Linked DNA regions of Homo sapiens: all the other regions are linked to region 1. Evidence: promoter capture Hi-C in human tissues and cell types (Jung and others, 2019). All regions are on one chromosome and are shown on one strand. The core of a region is centred on a gene start or on the middle of the fragment in contact, and the rest is flanking DNA. Distances in the headings are between cores, read along the strand shown.

The links. The method cuts DNA at HindIII sites, captures the fragments that hold promoters and counts their contacts. A contact is called where the count stands out against the background at its distance.
Region 2: a fragment that was not itself captured here is called in contact with the fragment with the promoter of NKX6-3 in region 1 in 1 of the 25 tissues and cell types used here (spleen).
Region 3: a fragment that was not itself captured here is called in contact with the fragment with the promoter of NKX6-3 in region 1 in 1 of the 25 tissues and cell types used here (spleen).

The regions. Positions count from the first base shown.
Region 1 is chr8:41,648,885-41,652,619 of GRCh38, forward strand. NKX6-3 (NK6 homeobox 3) reads right to left here and starts at 1,933. Exons shown (of 3, transcript NM_001364841.2): 1 at 1,227-1,933. The coding sequence starts at 1,608. The HindIII fragment of the contact is 20,465 bases long and covers 1-3,735 here.
Region 2 is chr8:41,509,009-41,513,144 of GRCh38, forward strand. It overlaps GOLGA7 (golgin A7), which reads left to right. Exons shown (of 5, transcript NM_001002296.2): 5 at 576-1,972. It also overlaps the pseudogene KRT18P37. Among named protein-coding and RNA genes, the nearest start is that of GINS4, 18 kb to the right of the region's middle. The HindIII fragment of the contact is 4,424 bases long and covers 446-4,136 here.
Region 3 is chr8:41,468,734-41,472,859 of GRCh38, forward strand. No RefSeq gene overlaps it. Among named protein-coding and RNA genes, the nearest start is that of GOLGA7, 20 kb to the right of the region's middle. The HindIII fragment of the contact is 4,012 bases long and covers 1-3,767 here.

The sequences.
Region 1 (3,735 bases), core at 683-3,182:
CTGACAGCTCAAGTTACAGGTGAGGAAACTGAGGCACAGAGAGAGGAAGAGCCCTCCTGAGAGATCATGTTCAAGTCTCTCTGCCTTTGCCTTCATTAGCCACTGACTTTCTTGGCTATGTCCCTGTGTGTGTACCTGCATTCAGGACTGAAGAGGTGGTGTGTGGGATGTGGAGAGGGGAGGGGGAGATGGAGGGAAGAGAGAGTCAGCTGAGGCTTAAAGCACCCCTGAAGCCAAGCCTAAAACAGGATCTGAGAGAGGAGGCCTTCACCCCCAGGGGCACAGCGATGGGTGGCAGCCCATGGAGGGGTGGCTGTCAGGCACTGTGACCGGCAAGGCAGAGTAGCAAATGGGGGGACAGGTGTGCTTTTGGGGTTCCCTAGGTTGGCCCCAAGCCCCCATTGGCGTAGGAGAGCCCGGAGATCAGACAGAAATGGAGGCCCCTGCCTGACGTGGGCAGGGCTTCGGTGGCACGGAGAAGATTCCAAAAACTCTCACCTCCCTGCCTCCCAGCAGAGCCTCACCTGCCCTGCCACCTCCTCCAGTAACCCTGACTGGCATCACGGGCCCACCCTCTGAAAACCTTGGCTGAGGGATGGGTCGGCTGAGAAGAGGCCCCCTGCTTCCCCACAGCCAAGGCCAAGTTCAGCTGGACTCAGCAGCAACTCCCCGAGACAGGCTACTTGGTGTGGCTGCTGTTGCTAGAAACCCGAGGATGTGGTGGGCAACAGCCCCCTGGCTCAAAGGCTGGACCCGGATGGGGTCAGGGTGCGTTCTGCACCCTTGAGTGATGCCAGGGCTCTCTGGGAAGGTGAGCTAGGACATTTTCCTCACGGGGGTAGCATTTGCCTGCTTTGGGTGAAGAAGTGGTTGCATGGGCCCTGGGCTGCAGAAGCCAGCTGGGCTGCCTACTGGACCTCGTGCAGGGCAGGCGTGGGCTGTGGGGCCTTCTCTACATCTGGAACTGCCGGGGGCCCTAGGAGGGCAGCTGAGGTGGCTGGCATGTGAGGGGGGTGGCTCAGACACCTGTGTCCAAGCACTGCTGGATGGGAAGGAGGAGAGGGTGGAACTCAGCCTGCACTGAGCTGAGGCTACGAGTCCAGGGGTTAATGGCGACTGGGGGAGAGGGCGGAGGTGCAGGGTGCCCGGGAGGAGGCCCCTCCTCGTCCTCTGCCCCCCGGGGCCTGGCGGGTGCCGGGAGGTGGCTGGGGAGGACCCGTACTCACTGTTGCTGCACTGCCGCCCGCCTCGCCAGTCTTGGCCCGTGTCCGCCCAGCAGTTCCGGGTCCGGGTCGGGTACTCGTTCCCAGCCTTGGAAAAATTCCCTACCTGGGGGCTGTAGTAGACCCCCTGCGAGCTGAGCCCCCCAAAGCCTGCCACGTGGGGGTAGCCGGAGAGGAGGCTGTTGTTCGGCGCAGCCACGGGCCTGCTCAGGATGTCCGTGATCCCGTGGGGGGTTCCGGCGGCCAGCTGGGGGCCCAGCCCTGGGGGGCTGAGCTTGTAGAAGGAGTTCTGCACAGAGTACTGGCACACCGGGGCCTTCATCTCCGGAAACTGAGCCAGCGGCGTGTTGTTCAGCAGGAACGTCCCCTGCAGGTTGGACTCCATGATCTCCCAGTCAGGACAGGGAAGGCTTCTCCAGGCCCCTAAAACCCAAGAGCCCACTCTCTAGCCCCAAATCTCATGGCAGGCCTGGAGGCTTAGGACCGTCTCCGAGCTCCTGACTGCCTCCCACCTAAGGCATGGGCCAGGCCCTGGCCCAGGAACCGGCACCCGATCAGCTGCTCGGAAGTCAGGTGCTCGGGGCAGGTGGGAGGCCTCCCCAGGGCTCCTGGCCTCTCTCCTTGCCCTGGCCGGACAGGGTGGCCCCCTAAGCCTCAGCTCAGACCCCCTTTCTGCCTCTGAGTCGGGGGACCCTCCATGAGAAGTTTTAAGTTCAGAGAAGGAACATTTCCCTGATAAAGATACGGCCCATTAGAATACAGGCCGGAGACTGGCTGAGCCGCCGGAGCCGCGCCGCCATTGGTCGGGGCGCACACGGGCCTCACATTGGCTTTTCCTAGACAAATTGCACTTTGAAAGATTGACTGTACAATCAGCCAGGGTGTGTGTGTGTGTGTGTGCGCGCGCGCGCGCGCGCGCGCGTGTGTGTGTGTGTGTATGCGCGCGCGCGCGAGAGAGAGACAGAGAATTAGCTCTAGAAGCCCTACTCATCGCCGGAGGGTCCATTTGCTCCCCGCAAGTCTAGCATCTAGGAAAAGGTGAGCGTCTGGGGGCCCCTGGAGGCTCCCAAGGCAATTGGAAGTCACTGTTCCTACAGCTGCTCCCCTAGGGAAGAGGAGGCTGGACTCAGAGGCCACTGTCCGGAGCTGCGCCGGCCCCTTTATGTGCACATGTCCAAGCTCCACAGGAGAACGCAGCCGCTTCCTTCCCTTCCGCATGCGGGGATGGGGTAAGTGGCATAAGATGGGGGTAAGTGCGGGGATGGGGTAAGAGGCTGAGTGGCATTGCTTTCTGGGGGATGCAAGTCCCTGTGGCTGGCTTGAGAGCCTAGGGTGGGAGCCTGCTGGGAAGAGGGCAGCGCGGGGCGTAGGCAGCCCTGACAGTGCCGGGGTGTGAGTCCTCCAACTGCAGGAGGCTGAAGAGAGGGCCGCCCTGCACGCATGTTCTTGCCTCCACCTCTGGTCGGCCTTCCGTGACCTCCCTATCAGAATCTCTTCCTCATTTGTGCCTCTGCTGGAGCAATGGCCATGCTCTGTCTGGCGTGGTGCCCGGGTTTGAAATCCCTGATGGCTGAGAGGGTGGTGGAGCCCCGTGCCGGGCACTCCGTCGGTGCTCAGTTAGTAGTTGATGCAGTGGACTGGGCTGAATCACAGAACATGCATATGCTTTTTTTTTTCTCGAATAAATTTTTACAACATACAAGGCTCTATTGGGGGAAGCTCTCATTTTACAAACAGGAAAACCAAGGTATAGAGGAATTGGAGCCCACTTTCCAGGTACATGGGTGATTTCTGGACCAGGCAGGATTCTTCCCTGCAGTTTTTCTCTAAAACTGGAAACTAGCATGCCACTGGCCTGAACATGTAAAATGCTAGGAAAGACTGTGACTGCCAGACAGATGGACTTCTGCTCCTCTCTGTGCCTGGTGGCCCCAGAGCCCTTCCTGACCAGGCGTGGGCTCTGCAGGGCTTGCTCTCTCACTCCCCAGAGGCCGCCCTGGTAGGTGGGAGACTAGAGGCACTGCTTCACTGAGCTTCTCCTGGGTTTCCAGGCCGTCTTGGTTTTCAGTGGGGAGCAGAGGACCCAAGGCTCAGGGCAGGATTCCTTCTCATGCAGAAGTTGACCCTCTGTAGCACAGGGATTTAGGTTATGCAAGAAAGATCTCACAAAGGGTGTGGAATGATTCCCTACAAATTTGGTTTAAAGAGAAAAGAGCTACGTCTTCGTCTGAGATGGCTTTGCCACCAGGTCGCGTGCCACAGCCATCTGGTAGACCTGGTTCTGGTTCCCGGTGTCACCACCCAATTCCCCCCAGGCAACTGTGATTCTGAAACTGCATTTTTAAAAGCCCCATGGGTGCTGCAGATGACCTGCTGCGGTTGCCCACTGGCCTGAACGGCCTGTCCGATTCCAGGAGAGAGGCTGGGAGTGGGGTGGGGCTGGGGTGCTCCAGGGGCCTTGGGATTGTGACTCCGTCATCCCCTCATGATGGGAATTTATGTGGCAGGAAAG
Region 2 (4,136 bases), core at 1,408-3,907, 140 kb before region 1:
CCTTTCTTTAAGCTTAATTTTTATAATATCTTGCATATATCTTTATTATCACATTGTTATTGTTACATGCACTGGTGTTTTCTCTCTGGATTAAGATTGCCATCTTTATATAAAATGGAATACATGATTATTCCATCACAACTAGTGATAATAAAAACAGCTAATGTTTGTTGGCACATCTGTGCCAGCACTATTCTAAATGCTTAATTTTAATCATCACAACAACCCTATGAGGTAGATATTGTTATCCCTGTTTTTCAGATGAGGAAGCCGAGGCAGAGAGAACTTAAGTTGCTGGCCCAAGGACAAACAGCTAGTAGACAGCAGTCAAGGCAGCGTGGCTCCATGGTGATGTGCTTGGTCAGAGATCTGAATATATAGGACTTAGATTTGTAGACTATTGAGCTGTAGACTCATTTAGACAAATGGTACCAAGATATTTTAGTAGATAAAATTCTAGGTTAGTAGAACATAGACCACATGTTATAAGCTGATATCAGTTGATGGAAGAAAAATGGTTTTACAAGTTATTTTCAGGATCTCTATCAAACCTTTACTTCTCCCTCTAATTACAGATCCCACTTCCAGCCGGGCCCCTCATGTATCCACTGGCCGACCGCAGAGTGTCCCTACCTCCTCTCCAGAGCATCATTCCTTTCTATCTGCTGCCAGAGCCACGGTGCCATTTACTCCAAGGACTCACTTTCTAAAATTCCACACCTGGAGTGACCTCTAGTCGCTCAGCATCCACTTTGTGTCTCCAAATTGTGTAGGACTCTGTAATCTTTTGATTAGTTTCTGAGAAAACACAATGAAGCACTTCACTTTTTTTTATTCAAAGCCATTTAATAAAACACAGTTGGTCAGCCCAGTGCAAAGCTTGTTATCTGCCACCAGTACATACCATTGGTTCTCTTCATTCCTTGGGCCAGCTTCTCAGGTGGCTTTAGACCTCAACAAGCCGTATCTTCACCAGTGTTCTATCTTGTTCCCCTAAATTAATAAAATGTTTTTCTCCAGGATTTTGGTGAGGGTTGGCTGTGGCTGTCGTTTTGCACCTCCCAGATTTCAAAGAATTACTGGTTTTACCATGACTCAAATCTTAAGATCTGTTTCTACTATTCAGTTCCTCAAACTGAAGCTTATTGAAAAAAAAATGTATAATGTTATTTGTTTTATTATAGCAATTATGCCTAATTAAAGCAGTATTTAATGCAATTTCCAGTTATTTCTTTGGAGAATTTTATGTCATTGTTCCATTACCTTGAATGTTGGAAAGATATGATACGTGCTGCTTGTTCATCACAAAAATCAGTAAGCACAATAAAGTGGATGCCAAACCATCAGACACATAAATGTTCCCGCTGTGTCCCTGGATATGGAATAAGCAGGTATAAAAAATATTTTAATTATAGTTTTGTTATAAATATAACTTATGAGAAAAAAATTTGATAGGAATAATACTGTATATTACTAATTTTTAACTATCCCTAAGGCAAACCTTATGACCCACAGAATTTTCTCATATACAGTATTCAGTGCACAGAAATCTTATGATTGGCTCAAGTACAGTAAGTTACTTCTCAGTAAAACTCTCAAGTCTGAGTCCATATTTGTAGCTCTGCTTTTGGCTGTACGTTCCTAGGATCGGGGCTGCTTATGCCTTTCGTTTATCCTTGGGGTTTGAGAGCGCTGTATTTGGGAGAGAGTTTAAAAATACATTAGGAGAGAGAAACCATTAAAAGTTTCACTGTCAGATATATTGTAGGTGCTAATACTGGATTTCGTCTCAGATTTAATTTCTTTTATGGGTCTGTTAGTCATTCAACAAATCCCATAAGTATGTGTTAATATTTTAATTGTGTAAAACTCATTTGTTACTTTACAGCCTGTAATAGTGTGTCTGCATTTTCAACCTGTTGCAATAACTTTGCTGAAATATTAACACATTAATAAAACTTTTCTTAAACAAGTTGTCTCTGTGTCATATTTGGTGGGATTTGGTAGTAAATGATGGTAAAGTGGTAAATGATAGGACACTAAATTTGTCAGATAATACTAGAATTGTAGTAGTGTACCGTACAATGTAGCTTAGTGTTTTAAAATAAACATCTTACATTTCTATGTCACACCTCTCAATTTCTTACCTGCTTTATCTTACAACAGCAGGTATATTATAAGTAAAAATTAAGGAGTAGTCGTTGACAAAGCCTGCTCTCTTCCCCGGACAGCATGAGCTTCACCACTCCCTCCACCTTCTCCACCAACTACCAGTCCCTGGGCTCTGTCCAGCCGCCCAGCTATGGCACCTGGCCGGTCAGCAGCGCAGCCAGCATCTATGCAGGCACTGGGGGGCTTGGGATCCCAGATCTCCATGTCCTGTTCTACCAGTTTCTGGGGCGGCTTGGGGTCTGGGGGCCTGGCCACAGAGATGGCTGGGGGTCTGGCAGAAATGGGGGGCATCCAGAATGAGAAGGAGACCATGCAAAGCCTGAACGACCACCTGGACTACCTGGACAGAGTGAGGAACCTGGAGACCGAGAACTGGAGGCTGGAGAGCAAAATCCAGGAGTATCTGGAGAAGAGACCCCATGTCAGAGACTGGGGCCATTACTTCAAGACCATCAAGGAACTGAGGGCTCAGATCTTCGCAAATACTGTGGACAATGTCCACATCATTCTGCAGATCGACAATGCCCGTCTTGCTGCTGATGACTTCAGAGTCAAGTATGAGACAAGAGCTGGCCATGCGCCAGTCTGTGGAGAGCAACATCCATGGGCTCTGCAAGGTCATTGATGACACCAATGTCACTCTGCTGCAGCTGGAGACAGAGATGGGCGCTCTCAAGGAGGAGCTGCTCCTCATGAAGAAGAACCATGAAGAGGAAGTAAAAGGCTTGCAAGTCCAGATTGCCAACTCTGGGTTGGCCGTGGAGGTAGATGCCCCCAAATCTCAAGTCCTCGCCAAGGTCATGGCAGACATCAGGGCCCAATAGGATGAGCTGTCTCAGAAGAACTCAGAGAAGCTAGGCAAGTACTGGTCTCAGCAGACTGAGGAGAGCACCACAGTGGTCACCACACACTCTGCCAAGGTCAGAGCTGCTGAGATGACACGGAGCTGAGACGTACAGTCCAGTGCTTGGAGATTGACCTGGACTCAATGAGAAATCTGAAGACCAGCTTGTAGAACAGCCTGAGGGAGGTGGAGGCCCGCTACGCCCTGCAGATGGAGCAGCTCAACAGAATCCTGCTGTACTTGGAGTCAAAGCTGGCACAGAACTGGGCAGAGGGCCAGCGCAAGGTCCAGGAGTACAAGGACTTGCTGAACATCAGGGTCAAGCTGGAGGCTGAGATCGCCACCTACCGCCGCCTGCTGGAAGACAGCGAGGGCCTCAATCTTGGTGATGCCCTGGACAGCAGCAACTCCATGCAAACCATCCAAAAGACCACCACCCGCCAGATAGTGGATAGCAAAGTGGTGTCTGAGATCAGTGACACCAAAGTTCTGAGACATTAAGCCAGCAGAAGCAGGGTACCCTGTGGGGAGTAAGAGGCCAATAAAAAGTTCAGAGGTCAAAAAAACATCAAGGAATAGTCCATGGTAATTAAAAAATGTATATTTTTTTTGAGATGGAGTTTTGCTTTTTGCCCAGGCTGGAGTGCAATGGCACCATCTCGGCTCACTGCAAACTCCGCCTCCCGGATTCAAGTGATTCTCCTTCCTCAGCCTCCCGAGTAGCTGAGATTACAGGCGCCCGCCACCATGCCCAGCTAATTTTTTTATTTTTAGTAGAGACAGGGTTTCACCATGTGGGCCAGGCTGGTCTCAAACTCCTGACCTCAGGTGATCTGCCTGCCTCAGCCTCCCAAAGTGCTGGGATTACAGGTGTGAGCCACCACACCCAGCCTAAAAAACATATTTAAAGAAATAAGACATTGGCATGTTTCATTAGGAAAAAGGCATCACAGTTATTGTTACTATCTTGGATCACCTGATGACTCAGTGTAGTTTTATTATTTTTTTTTCTGGGTACATAGGTGTCTATATTCACGGTGTACATGAGATGTTTTGATACAGGCATGCAATGCGTAATAATTACAGTATGTCAAATGGGCTACTCATCCCCCTCAAGCAC
Region 3 (4,126 bases), core at 512-3,011, 180 kb before region 1:
GGAGTGATCATAGCTCATTGCACCCCCAACCTAAATTTTATTTATAAGCTTCAAAAAACATGAAACATGAATCCACCCCTGCCTTTACGGTAAAATGTAAGTTGTTAGCTGGATAGCCAGAGGACTTTGCCCCCAGCCTCACCCTGTCTCTCCAGACCCCACTCCCACACGCTGCCTGCCCAAGCCCTCCCTTCTGCTCAGATGACCCCTTGGGGCTCCCTGCCCATGCTGCCCACGTTCCCCCCTCCACACTGCAGCTCAGGGCAGTCCTGTGCTTCTCTACTTATAGATTTTTCTTCCCATAATACCTAGTTCAAGCCTGGTTCTGCTTGGACGGTATTTCTTGTCCTCCCTAGCCAGTGGAAGTCAGCTTCCTCCTGCAGAACTCTCTAGTTTGCATTGCTTTTACCTTTTACAAACTCCTCTCCCCGCCATCATTGTCCATCACTTTCTCTGATGCTCCAGGCATTTAGAAAAAGAAAGGGGCCAGAGAAACAGACCTCCTAGGCACAGCCCACTCCCCTCCCTCCTTTTCTTCTTTCTGCCTCTCCCAAATCTGTATGACTCCACAGTCTCATCCCAAATGCAATCCTAAGGCCCCCCCAAAAGTCAGGCCAGTCATGTTCTGATTTTCTCTTTCTTCTCTTGGAGAAGTTTATATCCTGGGCTGCATGGAAACCTCAGTATCTATCTGAATATCTCAGAGCTATCTAAAATCTTCCTAAAGGGTGTGGTCTGGCCATCCCATATGGGAGCTTACATAGTCTAAATCTCCCCTGCATGTAGATCCAGATTCCTCTGTCTGGTTTGGAGACATAGAGCTGGCTGTGGTGGGGCCTCATCCCTCATCACCACCCCCGCAAGTTTGATAAACTTCAAAAACGACAAAACATGAATCCACCCCTGCTTTAGGGTAAAATGTAAGTTCTTAACTGGACAGTCAGAAAACCCCACCCCCAGCCTCGCCCTGTCTCTTCAGATCCACCTCCGACCTGCTCAGCTGACCTTCTCAGAGCTCCCTGCACAGGCTGAACACTTTGATGGTGTAATGAACACACCATCTCTAAGTGACTTCAAAGAGAAAGCTGGCTTAGACAGCATCCCGAAAGACATTTGCTTAATGTCTCAGTTCTTGTAGGAACCTAAGCATTTCCTGTTGTGCACATCACTTTATTTGGATAGTAAAGGAAAAGATGACTGTGCAAAGCTAGAATACTTGGGGACTTTTGGGATGACCCAGGCAGAGTTTCATTTGTGGTCACCTATGAGTTAGCTTATAAAAGTCCAGATGGGGTTACACCTTGATAAACTCATCATAAGCCAAAAATCTAATAAGTTAAAGATGCATTTGATATACCTAACCTCCCAAACACCATAGCTTACCCTTGCCTGCCTTAAAAGTGCTCAGAACACTTATATTAGCCTACAGCTGGGCAATGTGATCTAATAAAAAGCCTATTTTATAATAAGGTGTTGAACATCTCATGTAATTTATTTACTACTATACATTACATTGAAATTGCAATGGTTTAACACCATCTTAAAGTTGAAAAATCATTGAGTAGGAGACTGTGTAGAAAAGAGGATGGAGATAGATAGCGAGCTTAAATTTTGCATTCCTTGTGGTTCTATAGTATTTCCTTAATGATTTAGATCAGAATGTCTTCTTTAGTCCATATTCATCAAGATAGATGACAGTTTGCTTTTTTATCGCATGTCAACATCCTTACAGATATCCACATGGGATTCTTGCTGATGGTACCCTTCTCTGTTTGGAGTGATCCTGAAATGTTACAGTTTGCTTCAATGCGTAAGTATAAATGCCCCAGGAAGAATAAGCTTAAGGTGTCATCATTCCTTCATTTGTGTCCGCATAGTGTGCTAGTATAAGGACACAGCCACCTCACAGGCAATTAAGGGACCTGACGTTATGCCCAAGAGTGTTGAGTTTGTGTATGTAGCCTGGCCTGAAATAACCGGTTTTCTAGAATCGGGCCTCCTGCTGAGCTTAAAGGAAATCCCATCATTTCTCAGTACCTTAATTTCCCTTTTCACAAAATTGAAATTAGAACTGCTTGCCTCACTGGAGGACTCTCTGAGGACTCACTAGTTGACATCTGTAAATATTTTGAGGCTGAAAATGATTATGAAAATCAGATGTGCAACTATCCACATGTGCCTGACGTATGTACTGAAACCAGAAAGGGTCTTCCACAAATCAGGGTGTGGGTGTGAAAGGGACTTAATACAAGTCGGCCTTGGTGGTTCCATGAACATCTTGAGAGGTTCTCTCTGGAACTCACCCTTCCAAGGGAATGACTGGGGAGAGAGATGCTGTGGGCAACACATTAACATTCAGAGAGAGACGATGAATGTGGGGAAGGAGCCCCAAATTACAGGGTCAGAAGACCTGGATGCGTATTCTAACTCTACCACATTTTTGGCCGGCAGCCTTTTGTAGGGTAAACGCACCTGACAACAATAATTAAGCATATCCCTAGAATGGCCCTGTATGGCAGATGCACCTGAACATGTGTTCTGAGCTAAGGAATCCAGGGTGGCCAACCTGGAGATTTGTTCCTTGCCTATAAGGAATGTGTAAGCCCCTGGCCTGGTCCGCGGGACACGGGCCAAATAGAGAATTGAGGGCCTGAGTTTTGGGTTAAGTGAAGGTTTCCAGGTGGAGGTCATTAAGAAGAGGTTGTTAAGTGAAAGTGATATATAAACTGCATGCTGTTTACCAGCAGTTGGGGTTCTCCTGTCCAGCCCACCGCCACTGGAGTCTCTCCCTATCTGTAAGCCCCTAATAAAACCTCATGTCTCGGCCGGGTGCAGTGGCTCACGCCTGCAATCCCATCACTTTGGGAGGCCAAGGTGGGTGGATCACCTGAGGTCGAGAGTTCGAGACCAGCCTGACCAACATGGAGAAACCCTGTCTCTACTAAAAATACAAAATTAGCCGGGCATGGTGGTGATGCCTGTAATCCCAGCTACTCGGGATGCTGAAGCAGGAGAATCACTTGAACCTGGGAGGCGGAGGTTGCAGTGAGCTGAGATCATGCCATTGCACTCCAGCCTGGGCAACAAGAGTGAAACTCTGTCTCAAAAGAACAAAAACAAAAGCAAAACCTCATGTCTCGTTTGCTATTTCTGGGTCTCTTCTTCAGCCTCTTGAACCTGGAGCCTTCTCTCTTGAGGTTAATAGGAGTTCGGCAGGACACCTTTAAACTAGTATTTGGTAGAGTAACTCATTTTCCCTGTACTGAATTCAGAGCCATTTCATTTTATCACTCGAGCCAGATTCTTGGCTAGGCATTAACTAAAACTGCATAGTTTCATTAAATATATTTCAGAAAATGTGGTTAAAACTAGCCAGTTCAAGCCCGGGTGCAGTGGTTCACACCTGTAATCCCAGCACTTTGGGACACCTGAGGTCAGGAGTTGGAGATCAGCCCGGCCAACATGGTGAAACACCATCTCTAATGAAAATACAAAAATTAGCCGGGAGTAGTGGCATGCACCTGTAATCCCAGTTACCTGTAATCCCAGATTACATGGTGGCATGCATGTAATCCCAATTACATGCACCTGTAATCCGGAGTCTGAGGCAGGAGAATCACTTGAACCCAGGAGGCAGAGGTTGCAGTGAGCCAAGATTGCGCTACTGCACTCTAGCCTGGGCGACAGAACAAGACTCTCTCTCGAAAGAAAGAGAGAGAGAAAAGAAAAGAAAAGGACTTTTTGGGCTCTCTAAGCACCCTCTTTGTAGAGGTGAGATCATGGCTCACTGCAACCTCAAACTCTTGAGCTCAAGTGAGCCTCCCGCCTCAGCCTCCCAAGCAGCTGGGACACGCACCACCAAACCCCGCTAATTAATCGCCTCCTTAAAGATCCAGTCTCCAAATACAGTCACATTCTGAGGTCCTGGGAGTTAAGACTAAATTTTAGAGGGGACACAAGTCAGCTCTTAACACTATCCCTACTTGAAGGTGCTGAAATTGCTATTTGATTTAGATGAAAATCGAGGCGATTAGGAAATAGAAATAGAGCTTTCAACTCAAATATTAGTGAAGCATTTAAAAGGTCCAAAATGTCTCTGAGTTACTAATACAGGGAAGTTTTTAAG